2 separate regions of the Homo sapiens genome follow, and region 1 is linked to region 2. Evidence: promoter capture Hi-C in human tissues and cell types (Jung and others, 2019). All regions are on one chromosome and are shown on one strand. Each heading gives the region's core, a stretch centred on a gene start or on the middle of the fragment in contact. The rest is flanking DNA. Distances are from core to core; before and after follow the strand shown. Region 1 has its middle 66 kb from the start of HTR4. Region 2 holds the start of GRPEL2 (GrpE like 2, mitochondrial).

What was found. The method cuts DNA at HindIII sites, captures the fragments that hold promoters and counts their contacts. A contact is called where the count stands out against the background at its distance.
Region 1: a contact is called between a fragment that was not itself captured here and the fragment with the promoter of GRPEL2 in region 2, in 1 of the 25 tissues and cell types used here (dorsolateral prefrontal cortex).

Annotation. Positions count from the first base shown.
Region 1 is chr5:148,718,467-148,722,999 of GRCh38, forward strand. No RefSeq gene overlaps it. Among named protein-coding and RNA genes, the nearest start is that of HTR4, 66 kb to the left of the region's middle. RefSeq lists an enhancer at 1,057-1,628. The HindIII fragment of the contact is 5,202 bases long and covers 220-4,533 here.
Region 2 is chr5:149,342,751-149,346,748 of GRCh38, forward strand. It overlaps GRPEL2 (GrpE like 2, mitochondrial), which reads left to right and starts at 2,749. Exons shown (of 4, transcript NM_152407.4): 1 at 2,749-2,866. The coding sequence starts at 2,790. It overlaps AFAP1L1 (actin filament associated protein 1 like 1), which reads left to right. Exons shown (of 19, transcript NM_152406.4): 19 at 1-887. RefSeq lists enhancers at 2,432-3,057, 3,058-3,681. The HindIII fragment of the contact is 4,441 bases long and covers 1-3,456 here.

The DNA of each region.
Region 1 (4,533 bases), core at 1,571-4,070, 620 kb before region 2:
TAGATTAGACAGGGCTCTTGGACAAGGAACACCAGTCCCTTTTGCTTCAGAGTAATTGCAGGTGAACCTGCAGGAAGAAGCCTAGGAAAGTTAGTATTTCCGCTACGCTAATAAAGATTTTAAAAAGTTTTCTCCCTTTGCATCTACTTTTTGTCATTGCTGGGTACCATGTGGCAAATAACGATTTATTAATATTCTTCCAGATAAAATGATCTCTGTACTCTATTAAGTCATCTAGCACCCCAAAAGGCCCATGACCACTGGGGTAGGTGTGTATTTCACTTATTTTTGTAACTTATTATTGACTTAAGGATTATTAAGACATACTGTCAAAAAGTGCTGTGTGGCAAAAGCTGATAATTACCAATTTCATGCCCATTTTCCCTTCCTCCTTCAGAATAGAAACCTAGTTTTGTCAGGGATATCGGTGTGCACTGATACAAAATTACTTTTTTCAGCCTCATTTTAAGATAGCAGTGGCCAGGTAACTAAGTTCTGGATAAGGCTTTCAGGAAGGGTAAGAGGCTCTTTTTTGTTTTTCCATATTTCCTCCCTCTTCCTGCCCGGAATAAAGACTTGATATCTGGAGCTACTTTGTCTGTCTTGCTCCTTGAAGTTGGAAGTCACATGTTAATGACGACAGAATAAAAAGATAGCAGTCTAGGACATAGGTGGTATCCTAGAACCACTTCTACAACTATAGAAAGTCAACCTACAGACTACCTGTATATGAGAAAAAACAAACCTTCATCTTGTTAAACCGTATTGGTTCAAGCTTTCCTTATTAGCCCCCAAATGTATTTCCTAATTGCATCATTCTCTGTGTGGCTAAATAAGAACAGAACAAAAAATATTCAATCAAGGTATGAAAAAAAGAACAAAACATTTAAATTCTATGACTGTCAAGGAAGCGTTCATTAAGTGTGAGGAAGGGATTACTAGGTGGCGGTCATGGGAGAGCTATGATGTCCAAGTTGGCTACAGGAGAAGGGTTTTTATAAAAGAAAACTCTAAGAATCCAAGATATTTTATCTGTGGTTTCAAACACTTCACCCTTTGTGCAATTATAAAACTGCATTATTCATTAACATTGAATTTGTTTAGTCTGTAGGAGAAATGACTGATCATTGTAAAGTGTTTCTGGGATACTTTGGAATCTATTTAATGAAAAATCAAATGAGACAGGATAACAAGTTTAAGTTCATTTGAGTCAACATCAATGCCAGTTACTCCAGAAGCAGGAAAAGAGACCAGCAGAGAGGAAGGTAATAGAAAGCTCTTGGCGCTGCTTTCCAAATTACCTCTAATCCACTAACGGGCTGGAGACATCTTACAAATGCTAATTAATTAAGCCCCCTACCAGTCAAATGATGACTGTAGGAAGACGCCTCTGTGATACAGGTCTGGACTTTAAGAGAACACAGGGGGCTAGTAATGGACATGTAGTTAAGCAGGCAGTTGTTGAAGTCCTGTAAGGTCAGTTAAGGCAGTGAGAAGCACTAACCAAAGAAGAGTACAGAATTGAGAACTTGGAGCAACGTGTGTAATCAGCAATGACCTCTTTGCCCTCTTCTCCACGCAGTTTTCCACTTCTACTTCAAGCTAAAATAAGCACATTGCACCCTAATCTGAGAATTCTTTGTCTTCAGAAACTCTTCTAAGTTTCACCTTTGTGTTCTTTCAATTGCTCATTAATAACACACACATTTGCTAGAAATTATCATCTCATGGTATTGTCCTGTTTTCATGCTTCCTAAATTGTGTTCTGCTGAATCACGTTACAGAGGACATTTGAATCAGCCACAATACTTTTGGCTGCAAATAAAAGAAAGTTCAACTCAAAGTGGCTTAAACTATAAAGGGAATTTATTTTTTCTGGTTCACTTAACTGATGAGTTCAAAGGTATGTCAGCTTCAGGCACTGATTTAAGATTAGGGTACTCTGTTTCCCTGCATTTCTCTTGGTGCTATTCTCATCTGTTTGCTCTTTCCTCTGGCTGATTTCTATCAGTAACAAAATGCTACTTCATTTGGTGAGGTGTCTGGTGACACTGTTATATATCAGAGCATTCAAAGAGTTTCTTTGCTCAGATACCAAACAAATGCTTTGAGCTTCATCACTAATAGACAAAATTAGATTATGCACCCACTCTGGAAAAACATTTACTGACCCAAAGAATGGTGAATGAGTCAGTTTAGGCTAAGTGGTACTGGGATAGCAAATGACCCCAAACTGTCAGTGGCTTGCAAAGTAACAAAGGTTTATTCTCATTCAACTTGCATGTTGGCAGCTGCAGATCAGCTGAGACTTGAGCCATCTCCTCTTCATTTTGAAACCCAAATTGAAGATGAAGTCACTGTCTAGGACATATTAATCTTGTAGCAGAAATAAACGAGTAATAGCAGAATTATATGGTGACTCTTAAAACTTCTGCTTGAAACTGGCACAGATAACTTCCACTCACATTTTGTAGGGCAAAGAAAATCATTGCCTAAGCTTTTGTCAATGGGATGAAAAGTAAAATCTTTCTGGAAGAAAATCCAGATAGGATGAGTTTGAAATATTTTGAACATAATGCAATCTACTGCAAATGCTATATGTTGATTGGCTTAAACTGGGTTGCTCATCCCTAAATCAGTTACCAGGTGAGGGAGATGGGATTATTCCTTTGGGTTTATATCAATCAAGGTCTACTCCTCTAAGTGAGAATGAGATGAATCATACCTAAACCACCTGGTCTAATTTACCTACCAATAGATAGGGCATATTGGATACACCTTTTAAACATAAGAAACCTGGAACTTATAGGATTGAGACTTCAATCCTTGAGACATCAATGCTTGAGACTTCAGAGCCAGAATTTAAAGCCAGGTCACTTAAATTTATAGCTAATTATTTCCATCGTACTAAAGACTTTGAAATTGGTACTACTATATCTAAAAACAATCTCCTTACCTGACTCATTTGACCAACAAATTTAACATAGGTAAAGATCATATTGGAAATTTACTATTACTTTTGGACAATCACCATCTTTAAAATAATTAATAGGTCTCAAATTTGAAAAGCCACATCAATTGGAGAAAAAAAATTAGAAAATGGCATATTTCATCTAGAAAAACAGGCATTCTCATACAATGCAGTATGGAATATATATTGTACAAACTTCCTTAAGGTCAGTTTGGCAGTACTGTATCACTCAAAGCAAAAGCCTTTAAATGTGCTCATAGATTCACCCAGTAATTCCACATCTAGGAATTTATCTCATGCAAATAACCATGGATGAGTGGGAAAAAATAATAAAAATAAAAATAAACCACAAGGGTGTTCAATGAAACAAAAATTTAAACAATCTAAATATTCAAAACAATGGGATTTGTCAAGTAAACCAAGAAATATGCATTCAACAAAGTACTATATGCTATTAAAAAAGAACTTTACGCCTGGATAGTTAATTACATAGAAAGATTTTTAAAAATTGTTCTGGCAAATGTGAGTTAGTAAATGGTATATGCAATATGTTTCCTTTTATATATATGCAATAATAGAAGATTTGGGTTTTTTAAATTTTTGTTTATGTTTATACTCAAATTTTCTACATCAAATGTATATGACTTTAGATGTGTATGAATTTCATACTAAGAAAATAAACAATAAAATTTTCTTTTTTAATGAGTCACCCTCCTAAAGCCAAGTGAAACAGATGAGATTACCAACTGCAGAAGTAATTAGCTCTAAGAATATGTTGCTGATTAGACTAGGATGTCTCTCACATATGATAGAAGAGATTAAAATACAACCTAAGCAATCTATGATATGTAGTTTTGTGATAGCCCAACAAAACTGGTCTAGAAAAGTGGAAAATTCTGATTTAAAATGATCAGTATGACTTTCACCCTTGTCAGAGAGTGAGGCAGAATTTTACTTAGGCAAAAGATGGCCAAATATCCAAATGTTCCACTTTGGTGTTTAACAATACCAGGTTCCTTTTATTTTAATCCTGTACTGACCAAGCTATCTTCTGTCTGGATTTTTCTCTTTCATCAATAAGCAAAACCTCACGTCATGACACATGTTATTTGTCCTGACTGGTAGAATTCCTACTGAACCTGTCAAGGAAAGAATTCTGGTCTACAAGCCAGTTTTTGGGGAAATGTAATCAGTGTCATTATGTTTGTCAAGCTCATTTTCAATTAAGAATGAGGTAATCTCATCAAGTAGGGGACAGCCAACTGGCTTCTTTCTCTTTATTAACATTTCCACTTTCTTCTATACTTATAAAATTTCCAGTGAAACTAGATATGTTGGCCAACGGTTGTAAAATTTCATTCTTGAGATCTTTAAAACCCATGGGTAGGTATTGCCTCTACTCAGTAATTTCATTAAAATGTTTGATTTAGTACTACAGAAAGGAAAATTAGACATGTGACTTTTCCATATTCTAACCATACTTCTACCTAGTATTTCAGTGATAAATCTCCTTTACTAATGCCACAGTGCCTGGGCACATATTGCACAGCCACATTATTGTG
Region 2 (3,998 bases), core at 1,499-3,998:
AAAATACAAAAGTTAGCTGGGCACGGTGGCACATGCCGGTAGTCCCAGCTACTTGGGAGGCTGAGGGAGGAGAATCACTTGAACCCGGGAGGTGGAGGTTGCAGTGAGCCGAGATCGCACCACTGCACTCCAGCCTGGGCAATAGCAAGACTCCATCTCAAAAAAAAAAAAATGCCTTATTTGGTTGTGTTTTTTCAAAGTGTAAGCCACAGGTCTAAGCCCAACACTGCCAAGTGTTCAGTCTGTCAGAATTCTACTGTCACTGTTTCCTTATTGCGGGATCTTGCATAGGTTTACCAACCTTTCTGAGCCTCAATTTTCTCATATGTAAAAGAGAATCATAATACCTCCCTAAACCATATCACCCTTTTCATAAGGCCAAAAAGAAAATATAAGTTATTGGTCATGACACATTTGAGTTGGACCTCGGATTAGATAAAAAGATGAAAATACTCCAGCTCTGTCCTCATGGAACTCAGAGACAAGCAGGAAAGAAAATGTGACCCAAATAACTACAGTACAAATAACCCATGTTATGACAAGATTCAGAGTGCTCAAGGAACACTTCCCATTCCCTTAAAAAAAAAAATTAAGGGACTATCCAGTAACTAAGCTGGCAACTCCAAGTGCCCTGGACCCCAGTCACCAATCCATCCTCTCAGTCTGTCAGCTTTCCATCCTAAATCTCTAAAATTCATCCATATCTTCCTATCTTCACTGACACTATCCAACTTAATTAAGTCATTCAACAAATACTTGAGTACCTACTATACTAGATGTCAGAAATCAGTGGTGAACAAGACAGACACCTCATGAAGCTCACATTCTAGTTGGAGGAAAAAACCTTAACAAGGAAGCAAAAGAAATAAAATACTAAGAAACTAAAAGGGTGCTGGACACAGTTACTTTACAGTGGTTAGGAAGGTCTCTCTCTGTTCTTCCAGGACAGAATATAGCCCCATCTTGCCTGGGCTACTGCAACATATTGCCTTCCCTACCTCTTTTCTTACACCTTGCAATCTGCTTCACACAGCAGTCAAAGTGACTCTTTAAACATGAAAGCCTTTGTCACATGTTCCCTGTCAATCTAAAATAATTTAAAAGGTCAGAATCTAGTTTAAAGAGAGTTTATTCAAGCACAAAGGTTGAGGATGGCCTGCCCAGGAAGCACAGAATGGAAAAATATGTCTGTCTTAAAAAAGATGGAAGTCAGTGTTCCAAAGTGTGAAAGGTTGGGTTCAGTGAGGTTTAACAGAATTTCAACATCTTTCTATGCAAGGCTTAATGCACAGTTACAATGATCTGAGTAGTTAAGGTGGTCTTTTTCCTTCAAGAAAGGTACATTTAACATCACATCCTGCAGATGTAACTGTCATGGGGTCAGTTCAGTTCAGGGCACCATCTAGTCTGAGTTAGGTGCAGGACAATAAAGGAGGCTGTCTATTACAAACATCAGTAATTGAGAGGGAAGAAATCTGGTCTCTGCTCTTTCCTAGTCATTACAGAACAAGAACAATGAGGAAGAGAATTAAGCTATAATTCTAAGAAGCAGAACTACAAAACATGCTACATGGACTCAGACCACAGCCACATCTCTCTCAAAGCTTCAAGTATTTGGGAGGTTCCAACAGCTTTTAGGTTTTATTTATTTTCACATTCCATTGCAATCAGAATCAGACTAAATTGCATTCAGCAAAAAAGTTTTTTGAAGCCGGGGGCGGTGGCTCATGCCTGTAATCCCAGCACTTTGGAAGGCTGAGGAAGGCAGATCACCTGAGGTCAGGAGTTCAAGCCCAGCCTAACCAACATGGTGAAACCCTGTCTCTACTAAAAATACAAAAATTAGCCGGGTGTAGTGGGCGCCTGTAATCCCAGCTACTGAGGAGGCTGAGGCAGGAGAATCACTTGAACCTGGGAGGCAGAGGTTGCAGTGAGCCGAGATCGTGCCACTGCACTCCAGCCTGGGTGACAGAGTGAGACTCCATCTCAAAAAAAATAATTTTGAACACCTACATTAGGGCACTGCTCAATGGGAATGAATAGACAATATCTCTGCCTTAAAAGAGCTTATATTTTAGTGAGAGGAAATGAGAAAATACACACTATTTAAAAAAACAATTCAGTCGATAAGAAGGGCATTAGAGAAAAAGACTGGGAGGAGTGATGGGCAATGGTTCAGGCTGCGATGTTTTAAACCGCTCACGTGATCTAGCCCTTCCTAACCACCAGTCCTGTTGCCCTCCCGCCTCAGTATATTTCAGTCCCTTACATGCAATACTCTTCTCTCTTTATTAGGCTTCTGCAGATGTTTCCCTCTGCCTGAACCCTTTCTTCAGCTCAGCTCAAATACCCCCTTCCTCTGGGAAAACTTTCCACAAGGCTAGATTTCTATTCTAGGCTTCCGCGACACCTGCCCCTCACCTTCAAACACCGCTCATATTCTGACTTTACATCCCGCTTGTATCTGTTTATCGCTCATAATATCAAGTAAGCTCCATGCGGGCACAGCTATGATCTGCTTTCTTTGCTGCCGACCCTGCGCCCAGCACGGAGACTGTAGTTACTACTAGGACCTCGCCTACCCGCGGAACACACTGAGAGCCGGAAGTGTTGCCTTAGCTCCGGACGACCGGATGGGGAACGGCGCGGCCCATCGGGCAACCGGAAGCATAGCGTTCCTGTCCGGAAGTCCTGAGAGGGAAACGCCCGCAAAGGCTGGTTTTTAAGCGGGAGCATCTCTTCACTCGCAGCAAGTGCGCGTGCGCTGCCTCTCAGCCCAAATTGGAAACATGGCCGTACGGTCGCTGTGGGCGGGCCGGCTGCGGGTGCAGCGCCTACTGGCCTGGAGTGCCGCGTGGGAGAGCAAGTAAGCATTGCAGGCGGGGAGTCGGGAGCGTGAGGACTCTGAGGGGCTAGCGAGCCAGCCGGGGTGGTTGTGGGCTGGAAGGCGAGAGCTATCTGAGCGTAGGCCAGGGGACCAAGCTTCTCGGCCTCTACGACCGTGCACTCACGGCCCCATTTTACAGACGGGGAAACTGAGGCCATCAGCCGTGCCTCTTTCTTAGGCCGAGGAAGGTAAGGAGATCCGAGGTCATGCATGGCCTGGAAGGTGAGAAGTCTCTTAAGCCCCCAAGGGAGGGATGTACCACTCTCCCGGCCTCTTCTCCCAGCCTGTGGTACCTGTGGGTAAATTTGGGTTCTCTCCCCTCACTCCGTGTGACCTAAGGCCAGTCCTTTCTCCGTTATCCGGGCACTGTTGTACCTGTCAGTAAAAGGAGGCCGCTGAACTTGTTTCTCCAAACGGCCATTGCATCAGCCTTCGGAAGACAAGTTCCATCGGCAGCTTTTATTGGTCGCTTACGAGGCCGACTGCAGAATTATGGGTGGTTCTTTTTATTATTACCCATTTAGTAGTTAAGGAAAGTGAGGTTTAGAAAAGTTGAGTAACTTCCAAACTTAAATATTTGGGAAGTGGTGGAACCCGGGCTGGAAACCAGTCAGGGCGTTGGAATCGGCGCTCTTATTTAATGAGCGATGTTAATTAATTTTCTCAGAGACTGTTGCCCCTACACTGTTTCTTCCTGGGATAGAGAATAAAAATAGTTGAGTACGAGGTAGGGTTGGACCTCTGAATAGTAAAGTAAGCTACGGGAGAATCTGGTAAATGTGCTTAACTACATATGTCACCCTTTTTACCTTAACACACCTGACCCAACATCCTACCCTAGCACCTAAGTGAGAGGTTGCATTCAGGGTTTCGGGACTTGGTTTTGCTTACCGTTCTCAAGTCTTTTTGGCAGCTTGTTGGTGATGTAAGGAAATGACCAGAAGAAAAATGGTTCCTTCTGGTAAGCTGTCTCCCTACTCCAGTTCTGAAGCAGTAGGAATTGAGATTGGCCACAACTCCCCAACCCTATTTCTTGGTCTAAGCTTTGGCCATTTTCCCTTTGAACTGGCCCTGAGAATTTTTTTTTTTTTTTTTTTTTTTTTTTTTTTTT